Regions from separate parts of the Homo sapiens genome. Here region 1 is linked to region 2. Evidence: promoter capture Hi-C in 16 types of primary human blood cells and fetal thymus (Javierre and others, 2016). All regions are on one chromosome and are shown on one strand. Each heading gives the region's core, a stretch centred on a gene start or on the middle of the fragment in contact. The rest is flanking DNA. Distances are from core to core; before and after follow the strand shown. Region 1 holds the start of DNAJC3 (DnaJ heat shock protein family (Hsp40) member C3). Region 2 holds the start of GPC5 (glypican 5).

Evidence for each region. Contacts are between HindIII fragments. The CHiCAGO score rates a contact against its expected background, and 5 or more counts as called.
Region 1: the fragment with the promoter of DNAJC3 here is called in contact with the fragment with the promoter of GPC5 in region 2 in 1 of 17 cell types (non-activated CD4 T cells); the score reaches 5.1 in non-activated CD4 T cells.

Annotation. Positions count from the first base shown.
Region 1 is chr13:95,672,883-95,678,525 of GRCh38, reverse strand. It overlaps DNAJC3 (DnaJ heat shock protein family (Hsp40) member C3), which reads right to left and starts at 1,387. Exons shown (of 12, transcript NM_006260.5): 1 at 1,189-1,387. The coding sequence starts at 1,270. It overlaps DNAJC3-DT (DNAJC3 divergent transcript), which reads left to right and starts at 1,601. Exons shown (of 2, transcript NR_132117.1): 1 at 1,601-2,674; 2 at 3,858-5,643. RefSeq lists silencers at 1,007-1,096, 1,327-1,566 and enhancers at 1,207-1,256, 603-1,449, 2,087-2,186, 1,450-2,297. The HindIII fragment of the contact is 3,320 bases long and covers 1-3,239 here.
Region 2 is chr13:91,394,024-91,400,028 of GRCh38, reverse strand. It overlaps GPC5 (glypican 5), which reads right to left and starts at 1,408. Exons shown (of 8, transcript NM_004466.6): 1 at 820-1,408. The coding sequence starts at 982. LOC124903189 (a long non-coding RNA gene) reads right to left here and starts at 3,152. Exons shown (of 2, transcript XR_007063831.1): 1 at 2,868-3,152; 2 at 2,441-2,683. RefSeq lists silencers at 1,324-1,593, 1,300-1,594. The HindIII fragment of the contact is 9,875 bases long and covers 1-3,667 here.

The DNA of each region.
Region 1 (5,643 bases), core at 138-2,637, 4.3 Mb before region 2:
TGGGGGCAGCCTCACTGTCAAATTCTTTGTCCCAATGTTGCCACACTACGTGTTCTGATTTGGGGTTCAAAAAATATGGTTACCAGGGGAAGCAAAAGCAAAAGCCCATTGCTATGGGTGACACCTAAAAACTGGGGAGTACTACTTTAAAAAAAAAAGTTGAGAACTTTCAGAAGAATTCACTATAAACAATTCCCAATTTTTAGTTCCTCGCTCCCTTTGAATGGAATACTCAAAGGTTTAATTTGACCTCCTTGACAACTAGCCCTTTTTATGGGGATGAAAATAGATCAGTGCATGTGATGTGTCATTACACTCGAATATTTCGCACAGTAACCGCGCCAGAAGCATTCGTTAAATCGGCACTATCAACTTTAATTCTTACTCCTCCCCGCTGCCATCTAAGATAGGACAGCCCTCTATTTTCGCTATTCTGGAGTAGCCAACATTCCAGTCTGCAGGACTGAAGTGAAATTTAATCGTTCGTATCTTTTTAAGGGAACCTTTTTACAGCGAACTTGGAAAAGTAATGCCAGCCATACGTTGAATGACACCATGTTGGGAGTTGTAAAACCACAAACTCAGTGCCTGGCCGTCCGGGAGATGGAATTCCAACAGCGGCTCCTCATTGCACCAAACTAACAATTTCTCTACACGACAGTGCATCTTAATGGGGATGGTTACACACTTTTTAAATAGTCAACACTGTCCCCTCCAACTCCCAGCCGGACATGACACTCCTTCCCCACCCAAGAACTCCAGAGCGAAGGAAGTCTTTTGGCCACCTTAGTGCCTCCTCCCAGCCAGCACCAATGACTGACAGTGTCCCCAGGCGCCCAGCGAGGGTCCCAAGCGAGGCCAGGACCCAAAGGCTGCCCAAGTCTCCGCGTCCCAGGACTTCCTGAAGTCGTAGCCCGGTGCCCCCGCACCCCGCCTCCTCCGACTCCTGCGGCCCGGTTCCTTAGTCCAAACCCGCTGTCCCGGCCCCGCGGCCCGCCAGTCCCCTCGATTCTTCCCCAGACAAACCCGGAACCGGGCGCGGGCTCAGGCCCAAGCCAGGCCGCGGGCTCCCCCAGCGCTCGCCCCACCTCCCGAGCCGCTCCGGGACAGGCGCCCGGGCGCAGACGGGAAAGCGCGGGGGGCCTGGTCCGGGAGCCCACTTCCTGGCCGGGGCAGGGCAGGACTCACCTTCGTACTGCAGATCCACCAGGACTAGCAGGAAGGGGAATACCGAGCCCAGCCGGCTGGTCACGGAGCCGGGGGCCACCATGTCCGAGGGCTCGCGAGTGAAGAGGAGGAAAGGTGTGTGGCCCACCAGCACGCGCCGGCGCTCCGGCAGCAGCTGCGCCCGCCCGCCGTCGGCTCTCGCTCAGGCCTCAGTGGCTCTGGAGCCCAGCAGAGGAAGGCAGCGGTGGGCGGGGCCCGGGCGACGCTACGCCCCAGAGCGCCGCCGCCATCCAATCGCCTTCTTTCTGGCGGCTTTCCTCCCGGGCTCGCCGGGGTCGTGGTTCGCGCTGATAGGCTGCGGAGGCCGCCGCCCCGCCCCGTCCCTGATAGGATAACGTGGAAGCACGAGACGAGGCTGCGCCCGCCGGTCGCAGAGCTGTCAGCAAGCTCCAAACCGCGGCTGCCGCCCGGAGGGAAGCAGACGGGGAGTCGGTGGCGGCCGCCGAGTCCGCATGCGCAGGCTGCAAAGGCCCTTTTGGGCCGGTCCCGCCGCGCTAGGTTGGCGAGTGGGACTATTTGATCCTTTCCAGGTTCGCCAGCGTGGTGTTACGAGAGGAAAGCGCAGCCGCAGCGTACGAATGGGAAGGCCAAACACGGTCCCGGGGAGTCTGAGGGAAGCTGCAGGGCGCCTGGAATTGGGGTCTCGAGTGAGCCGGTAAAAACCGCCTCCCGCTGAGCGTCCCGGAACAAATACTGTCTGAACTGAGCCGTAAGCAAGAAACGGTCAGGAGAAGCTGGGGCGATCTGATGATTAGAACATTTCAGGGACTACCAGAGAGAAGTGCGTAATTGCTCTAAGGCAGGTAGGTAATTGGCCTGGAAACTTGGGAACGCCCCGCCCCCCACCCCGACTTTCAGCAAACCACCGTGCCCAGGAAAAAGAGCGATTGTGGAAGACCCTGTGAAGAAGAGACCAGGAAGGCACTGTGGCTTAAGAGAGCAAGGCGTTCCTGAATGCAGCCAACATCAACTGGTAAACAAAAAACTGTGAGAACGGATCCTGAATCTTGCGCTTACCAGGGGAAATTCAGGAGAGATATGAACCTGAGCAAGATGAGGTTGAAGTTACTCAATGCGGCATTAAGCCTGTTCACGGCCACTTCCTCCGGCGTCACCAACACACACACTGTACACCAGCAGTATTTTTACACGGGGTATGTGTGTTAAGTACTATCAGGTGGATAATTATTACTTCACCTGTATTTGCTGCCTTGATACCATTAGAGAAACTCATGAATTATAAATAGCATAGTGAATTTGTGATTCCCTGAAGATATACTAAGGTGGACTTTTAAAAAGGCTTCTATTCCAAAGGGAACTAATATGGAGGAAATGGTTTCGAGAAAGAAAAAAGAAAAAACGGAGTCCTTGATTAGTTGTGGGGAAGGCAACATAATGTAATGTGAAGAATAAAGGAGTCAGATCCAGGAAACCCCATAACTATTATGTAAGTTATCTTCATCTGTAAAGTGGTTAGGATCCTGATAGTCTCAAAGGTTTGTTTTGAGGTTTCATGAAGCAGATAAATATTCTTGTAAATTGTAGAATGTTATACCAGTGTTACTCATTATTCTAACAAGAGCAGAGTAGTGAAGAGAGGCTCCTTCAGAAATTCCTTGGGATTTTTTTTTTTTTGGCTTCTGTTTTTTTATATCACAAGGTAGTGTCTCTGAAAAATGGTAGATGATTTCAATGTCCACAAATATGCAGGTGTAGACATTCAATTGAGGTACTGTACCCAAGGCAGCCAGCAAAATGCTGAACATAGAAAATAACTTTGTAAACAAAATGCAATATTTCTAGACAGTGAGTTATCACCAGTGTGCTGCCTATGACCCTGGCCTTAAGGAAAAAGTAGCAGAGCTGAAGAAGTTCTAAGGATGGAAATTAAAAATTATTAAGGAGATAATAGACTTCGTGTTATAGGAAATAAAAATAGCAAGGGTCTTCAATGGTGAGTGATTTTGAGATTAATTACATAACTATGAATTCTGTAATATTAGAACTAAGCTTTACAAAGCATTCCTTAAAAAAAGATAATTTTACAACAAAGGTAACATTAGACAGAAAAAAATGTACAAAACTAAAATTAAGTGATTAATGCTTGGGAATGTTTCCTCCAATGTTCATCTAGTCATGGTTTTCACGAATCACTCTTGCCAATAAAACCGAAAATCAAAGTAATCTAGTGAGTGTAAGAAAAGTTACTGTAAATATGTTTGCATTCGTCAGACTCTATGGAGTCTTTTTGAAGTTAAACATTAAATCTCCACTGTAATTCATACTGTTAATTATAGTAGCAAAAGACTTAAAAAACAATGGTAGCATATTTATGATATATCCAAAATTAAGAGTATTATGCAATTTTTATTAGGTTGATCTATGTTTATTGACTAGGAAAAACAATGTTGGTAGAGAGGAGTGAACAGATCTAGAACATATTTTGTAGGTAAAGGGAATAAGATTTGTTTAGGAATTAACTATGAGGAGAAATAAATGTTCAGAAACAAGTAGAGCACTTATAAACACCTTTTTGTGCCAAATTAAGAACAAAAAAGTCAGCATTAAGTTAATGCCACCATATACATCCTTCCACATTTATGTTTACAAACTTGTGCTTTTATTTCTAGGAAACATTTCTAGGCTGGGCGCAGTGGCTCACACCTGTAATGCTAGCGCTTTGGGAAGCCAAGATGGGAGGATTATTTGAGGCCGGGAGTTTGCGACCAGCCTGAGCAACATAGCAGGATCCTGTCTCTGCAAAAAAATTTAAAACTAGCCAGGTGCGGTGGCTCGTGCCTGTTGCCCTAGCTACTCAGGGAGACTGAGGCAGAGGATTGCTTCAACCCAGGAGTTTGAGGTTGCAGTGAGCTAAGATCATGTCACTGCACTCCAGACTGAGCAACAGAGTGACACTTTATAAAAAAAAAAAAAAAAAAAACTAGGTTTTTGAACTTGCTTAATCAAAGAATTTGTTTAAACTTTTAAGATGCGTTGTCAGATTATCTTTCCCTAAAGGAATAATTTCTATTCCTATCAGCTGTTTATATTCCTGCCTAGTCACCATCACTAGATATAATTGATTTTCAGTTTTTGCCAATCTGAGGAACAAAAAATGACCCTTATATGTCAAATTTACAGTTTATTTTCAAGGATTTTGGGATTCTGATCAAATTTTGGTACCTTCATATAAAATTTGGCTTTTATATCACATCTTGTCTTCTCTGCTTTCCACCCTCTTTTATGTTGTTTTTTGGCTTCTGGCCGCATGACTATAATCTCCGCTTTTGTATTCACATCACCTTCTGTCATTTTTGACCTTGCCTCCGTCTTACAAGGATCCTTGTAATTAATTATATTGGGCCTGCTGAGATAATCCAGGATATTCTTCCTACTCAAGTTCCTCAATTTAATCACATCTGCAAAAACTGCCTTTTGCTATAGAACAATGACAGGAGATTAGAATGTAAACATATTTGGGGGACCGTTATTCAGCTTAACACAATACGTCCCCCTTCATCAGGTGGAGCTTATTTTCCCTCCTTCCTTGAGTGTGGGCTGGACTTAGTGACTAACTTCCAAAGAACAGAGTATGGAAAGGGAGGAGGAGAGTAACTTCATAGTACAGAAACCTGGAAACACTGTCTTGGCCAGGTGGTCAAAGTTAATATCATCAAGTCATGTTGATAGCATATACTCCCAATATACTGTGATGAGAAGGGCAATTCACCTCTGTGGTATTCTCAAAACCTATAACCCAATCTAGTCTAAACATGAAAAAAAAAAAATCAAACTAAAATTGAAGGACATTCTATAAAACACCTGATCAGTATTCCTCAAAACTATCAACGTCGTGGGGAACAAGGAAAGATTGAAATACTGTAACAGACCAGAGGAAACTAAGGAAACTTAATTGATGACTGAATGCAGTGTGCTGTGTTGAACTGGATCCTAGAGAAAATAGACATTAGTGGAAAAACTACTGAAATATGAATAGTCTCAAGTTTAATAGTAGTGTACCATTATTACTTTCTTAGTTTTGACAAATGTACCATGGTTATGCAAGATGCTAACAATACAGAAAAATAAGGGGTATTTGGGACCTCCCTGTATTATCCTTATGCCCTTACTTGAAAGTTGTTTCAGCAATAGAAGTTTATTTAAAATATTGTGAAGGGCCTGAGTATTTTTAAATCAACTGCAGTGACTCTCTTTTGTGTATTTGTGTACAGATGAGTTTTTCTGCATCGAATTTTATCTCCTTTCCTTGCAGAAGAAAGAGAATTAGCCCTTTACAGAGATAACAGTTGCCTAAGCCAGCTCTTTTCTCCTCTTTTTGATGTTCTTCTTTTTCTCTCAGTTTGAAAATTGTAGGTTATTTGAGTTTTTAAAATGTCTATTGCTACATACACATTC
Region 2 (6,005 bases), core at 159-2,658:
AGGAAATTGGTGCGGTGGAAACGGGGAGCAGGGTTCGAAAGCACAGGCAAAAGGCGCTCACAGGAAGCAAGATCCACGCTGGCCACACAAACTGTATCTTTCCCTTTGGAACGCTGGTACATCTCATCCATGTCAAGTGACTCCCCAGTACGTTCGGTTTGATCGCCTGTTGCCCTAACACTTTTCAGGCTAAAAACTACCTTGGTGCTGGGAGACACACTGGGTGGTTGGGTTTCCTCCAAGCAGGGCTTGATACGAGGGCACAGAAGGGCAGCTAAGGGTCACGTCTCTGGGTGCACAGGGTCCAAGTCCTAATTACAGAGGAGACCGGCTGCCCTTGTCTGTGCCCCATTCTCCAGCAAAGGGGTATATCGCAGGTTTGTGATTTTTAGTACCAAACTTGGGGCGATCAATTCAATTCCCTCCACCTTATGAGAAAGCAGTAAACCGAAATCCCCGGTGGGGCACTGGGGAAATTCCTACTCGGAAGAGAAACGGAGTTAGACTGCGTGTCCCCCACGCCCTGATGTCTGCTTTCCTGGTTCCTTCCAACTCATCCTCCAAGACGAAGGGAGCCGGGCGGGAAGCAGATGCCCAGAACGGGGATTCGTCGCAGGCTTGGTTAGGGGTCCCCAGAGCTGCGCTGCGCTGCACTCAGGCTACCCGCACCAAGCATCCCCGGAAGCCTCCCCGGGATTCACCCTGCGCGGCTGCAGGGCCCGAAAGGTCATCTTCCCACGAGTGCCACCAAGGGAGCCTGGGGGAGCGAAGGCCGGGCTCGGACGCCGCCAGTCCAGAGACCCCCTCATTGCCCCTTACCTGCCCGCGGCGAATCCGGCAGCCCCCTGACAGCTCCCAGCAGCCGCCACTGGAAAAGTTTCCGAACTTCTTCGCAGGTCTGCACGCCCTCGCTGCGGGCGGACCCAACCAGGGCCAGAAGGAGGAGGCAGCGAAAGCCCACGGGCCAGGTCTGTGCGTCCATCCTCGCCGTCCTGGTCCCCTTTACCCGCCAGTGGACCCCACTCGCCCTGCGCGCCCTGGCTGAGCTGCAGACGTGGAAGACACAGCGGCCGAGGCTCTCGAGCGGTGCGAGCCGGCTGCGGGGTGTACGGACCGCCCGCGGGCACCGGCTTCACCTGGGAGCAGTTAGCTCTTCCCGGAGGAGGCCCTAAGCTGAGACACCAGAGTTTTCCAGCTGAGCACCCTCTGGTCTTCTTCCCTAGCCGAGAAGAGTGGGCGGCTGGGCGGGGCGAAGAAAACTAGTGGAGCCGCAGGGAGCCCGCAAGCATCCGCTCTGGCCACCACTGCTGCAACTGCTGCCGCTGCCGCCACTGCCGCCACTGCCGCCACTGCCGCCGCCGCCGCCGCCTCCGCCGCCCGGCTCGGCTCGCAGCAGCTAACCTGGGATGTGCCCGCTCGCTGCGCTCCGCGGAAGCCCCGCCCCGCACTCCCCGCCCCGCGGACAGGCCACGCCCCTGCCACGCCCCCGGCGCGCTGTCCCGCTCCGCACCCACTAAGATGCTGTCATACGCGGCCCAGTGCTGAAGACTCGGAGCGACATCGATGCAAATAAATAGAAGGAAACCCGGACCTCGCTCTCCCAGTCCGTTCTGGGGAAGAATCATCTGATAAAAACAGAGAATGTATAAATAGGGTCAGAGAAGACAAGAGATGAGAAACACCAACTGGAACTAAGAAATATCTCATCTATGTAATCAAGGTCCTCAGTACATAGGAATTTGTATTCTAATTGCATTAAATAGGATCTGGACATAATACAAAAGGCAAAAACTATTTACGGTTAAAGATCTCAATTGAGAGACTTCATAACACTTAGGTTGTTAAAGAGTGCACATGAGAAGTTATTTTTTAAAATGGCTTTGTTTTACTGCTTAGGAACATTTTTCTATAACATGATTTTCTGAAAGGAGGTATAAGAATTACAATCAAACTTTATCACATTCTTATCACAATGAAATCTAGTTTTAAGTCTCTTATCACCATTTAGCATCATATTTTACTTCAGCACTTTGTATTTGTGGGGCTCCTCTGAGCTTTACCACTTCTGGAATTTCTTTAAAATATTTTTCAGAGAGCAATTAAGTTAAGAGTGCTCAGGGGAGTTCCTTACAAGGAATATAGAAAAATAAATACTTTAAGCAATTTTAAAATGGCAAAGGAATTTTGTCAATTTACAGTTTATGAGAGGAATGCATTACGCACCATAAACCAAAGGGCAGGTGCATTTTTTAAATGTGGTTGACTCAACAACTAAGCCTGTAAGAGTGTCTCAATCTACAGCCACTTGAAGAGAGTACTCCTTCTGTAAAATAAACTAGTTAAAAGCATCAGGCAGAGGGGACAATGAATGCTTTAACCACTTTAAGGAATTTCATCTCAAATTTGAACCCTTACCAAGAGATAGTAGTGAAAAACTTTATGTCTTAGTGAAGATTTTTAATGAACATTTAATATCAAAGGCAGCACTTTCAGCAGTATATCACTTGCTTTAAAACCATTCCAGGGCAATGGCTGAAACACTGCTTCAGAGTGAAATCATGCTACTTGGTGTTTGGCATCAGTTTTCTGAATATGAGATTTTGTTTCAAAGGGCAGTGCTCTTCATGAATCTCTTCTGCTCTAACCACCAAGTATGGAAAGATTGTCTGGAAGCCACCTATATCTATGAAAAGAAACAAGAAAAACCATGAGAATGTATATAGTGCTTATGGGCCAGATAATATTCTAAGTATTTTATGGAAATGAATTCACTCATGTAATCTTTATAACAACCTTATAAAGTAGTTACTACTATTATCATTGTTTTACAGATGAGGAAACAGGAACACAGAGGTGAAGTGACTTACTGAATGCCTAAGGTAAGTGACAAAGCCAGAAATCAAACTGAGGCTTCCAAATCCAGACCGCATGCTCTTCTCCAGAGGCTCTCCTTGACTATTCTGTGGTACAGAAAAACCCATCAGGTTTCACCAAAGGCCTTTGGGCAGCAACACCAAGGGCTGTTTATTCATTTAGCAGATTTTTTACTAGTAAATATGCATAATTTCTATCTATATAACTGTATTCTACTGGAATTATGTGTATCTCTATATAAGGCTAATAAATTCCCAAGTTTTTCTAAAACATCTTTATTGTTACCAAGATCTCTCCTTGATAGATTTGATCATCTTAGACTCTTAGCATCAAAAAGATCCTTAAATTACCATCTATCCCATTAACTGGAATCTCTAAAACGGTGTGTCTTGCAAGGATAAAAATCATAAACACAACTGAGTATTGATGGTTCAGTAAAAGCTAATTGACTAATACATATTGGTTGAAAACATACAATTTTTTTAACCGCTATTCTAGGCTTAACAGGAGTTTAAAGAGACACACAAGCAAGTTTTCTCAGTGATTTTATAAGTTAACAAAACAGGTGGGAGGTCATTTATAGAAATGCCATAGGAACTAACAAGAATATATTTAGTCTGTATAAAATATCCCCATTAACAAAAAATAAATATATTTTCCTTCTACCTCTTATCCATAACTGCTAGCAAAGTGGATGAGCCAGCATGTGGCCTGGAAGGGCATCTTGTCCTATTAGCATCCCTAAGCCCACCACGCAAGGCAACAGTATGCCTGCTACTGAAGCTACCAAGCTTCAAGACAAGTTTTCTAGTTCCACCCAGAACACAATGCCACGATCCCTTTTATAAGAACATTCTAGAGCAACCTCTGCAAATTATACCATAACTAGCCTTTTATTCAATTTACTGGTAAACATTACAAATGAAGCTAGGGAAAACTGTCCATAATTTGATAGTTATAATGCCTTATTTTACAAAATGTATTTAAAAAATGTATTGAATGTCTTTTATATAATAGGCATTGCGCTTTGCTTTCAAAATACCAATACCCTTGGATAGGAGAATCCTTAAATGGTCATTATTTAAAATACAGCTTAGTAATATTCTAAATCCAAAACTTCCCTGATACTTTCTATGTAACTGTTTATATGTTTATAGTTTGTCAACTTAGGACCTTGTAAAGAGAAATAAAAAACCTCGGCCGGGTGCGGTGGTTCACGCCTGTAATCCCAGCACTTTGGGAGGCTGAGGCGGGTGGATCACGAGGTCAGGAGATCGAGAGCATCTGGCCAACATGGTGAAACTCCATCTCTACTAAAAATATGAAAATTAGGTGGGTGTGGTGGCCCATGCCTGTAATCCCAGCTACTCAAGAGGCTGAGGCAGGAGAATCGCTTGAACCCAGGAGGCAGAGATTGCAGTGAGCCCAGATCGTGCCACAGGACTCCAGCCTGGGGGACAGAGTGAGACTCCATCTCACAAAAAAAAAGAAAGAAAGAAAACCTCCAGTGTGGTTTAGGTGATTTAATGATATCACAGAGTCTTCAACCCTGACTATTCTTTTAGGCTAAGACTGGCCACTAATTAGTTTACCCTCAGAAGCTGATTTGGGTAACTTTTATACCCAGTCAATGACAAGAGCTAAGATTTATTAAGCACTTACAGATATTATCTCATTTAACATTTCAACCATTCCATGAGACAGTTACTATTATACTACTGAGAAAACTGAAGTACAAAGAGATTAAATAACCTTCCAGAAATCCTGATAAGAGCCCAAATGCAAGCCAGGCTTCATAACTTTTGTACCCCTTTAGTCACTACACTCGCCTGCCTGAAAAGCCAGACACCTGGTTTGTGGCCCCTTGAACTCAACCTATCATATAAATATAAACTCTGGTACTCACAGCTATCCATGTGGACAACCTGCTGAACACCTTGGTTATAGTGGTCCAGAGCTCTGCATTGGCTTCAACGATGGCCTGATAGTACCTCACTGACGTGGGGCTGGCCAAGGTACTACCTGCTCCTACTTCCTACCTCCACTAAGCTTTTAACTAGGAGAACTGTTTTGCAAGCACTAAAATCCCACGAACTGCCTTGACATCTTTGAGCCTCACAGGTCCCTAGTCATGAGTTCTCCTGCTCTGGCCAGATATGCCCCCCACCCAGATGGAAAGTCTTGCTTGCTGGCTACCTCCCTTAGCTGGACCAGCTCCATCCCACCCTGTCTTCAACCTAATGGCTTTCACCTCCCTTCAGAGCAATTAGTCCAACAAGATAATCACATCCTCCTGTGGGAACCAAGGGGTCCTCCCCACAACACACCATCTTCTTGTTACTACAAAGCTTGCCTCCCACAACTCCTGCAGGTTCACTCTGCTCCCAAATGAAGCCCCTCCTCCCCTGTATGGCCCTGCATGGCATGTGGTAGCCTCCTCCCCTGGGCTATGAGTATGTGTGACTAACAAACTGCTGTAAATCTCATCTGTCCAGTCTTGTGTGTTTGATCATCTCGTATAATTTACAAAGGGGGATCCCTCTTTCATCAACTGGGTGAAAAGGAGGTTGTCAGAGAAAGAATATCCTTAATACAAATAACTTCCACTTCATTATTTCCAAAAAAGTGCTGACTTTTGTCTTGCCCTACCTTCTCTCTCCCTCCGATGTAGGCTCTAAGCCGTTGGTTGCACAATAAAGAGAACCAAGTTGGATGTCAGCCCGAGCTGCCCCAGTAATGAATTTCTGCCACCAAGTAACCAGGAGAAAATTGAGTGATACTCCCCTGAAATCTCCTCTAGTGAAGATAGTAATGGTTCTGTTAAAAAAAAAAAAAATCACCACCGGGCACAGTAGCTCTCGCCCGTAATCTCAGCACTTTGGGAGGCTAAGGCAGGAGGATCACTTGAGCCCAGGAGTTTGAGACCAGCCTGGGCAACATAGGGAAACTCTGTCTCTACAAAAATTCCAAAAAAATGGCCAGGCATAATGGCACATGCCTGTAAGCCCCAGCAGCTTGGGAGGCTAAAGTAGGAGGATCACTTGAGCCCAGCAGGTTGAGGCTGCAGTGAGCCATGTTCGCACCACTGCATTCCAGCCTGGGTAACAGCGTGAGACCCTGTCTCAAAAGAA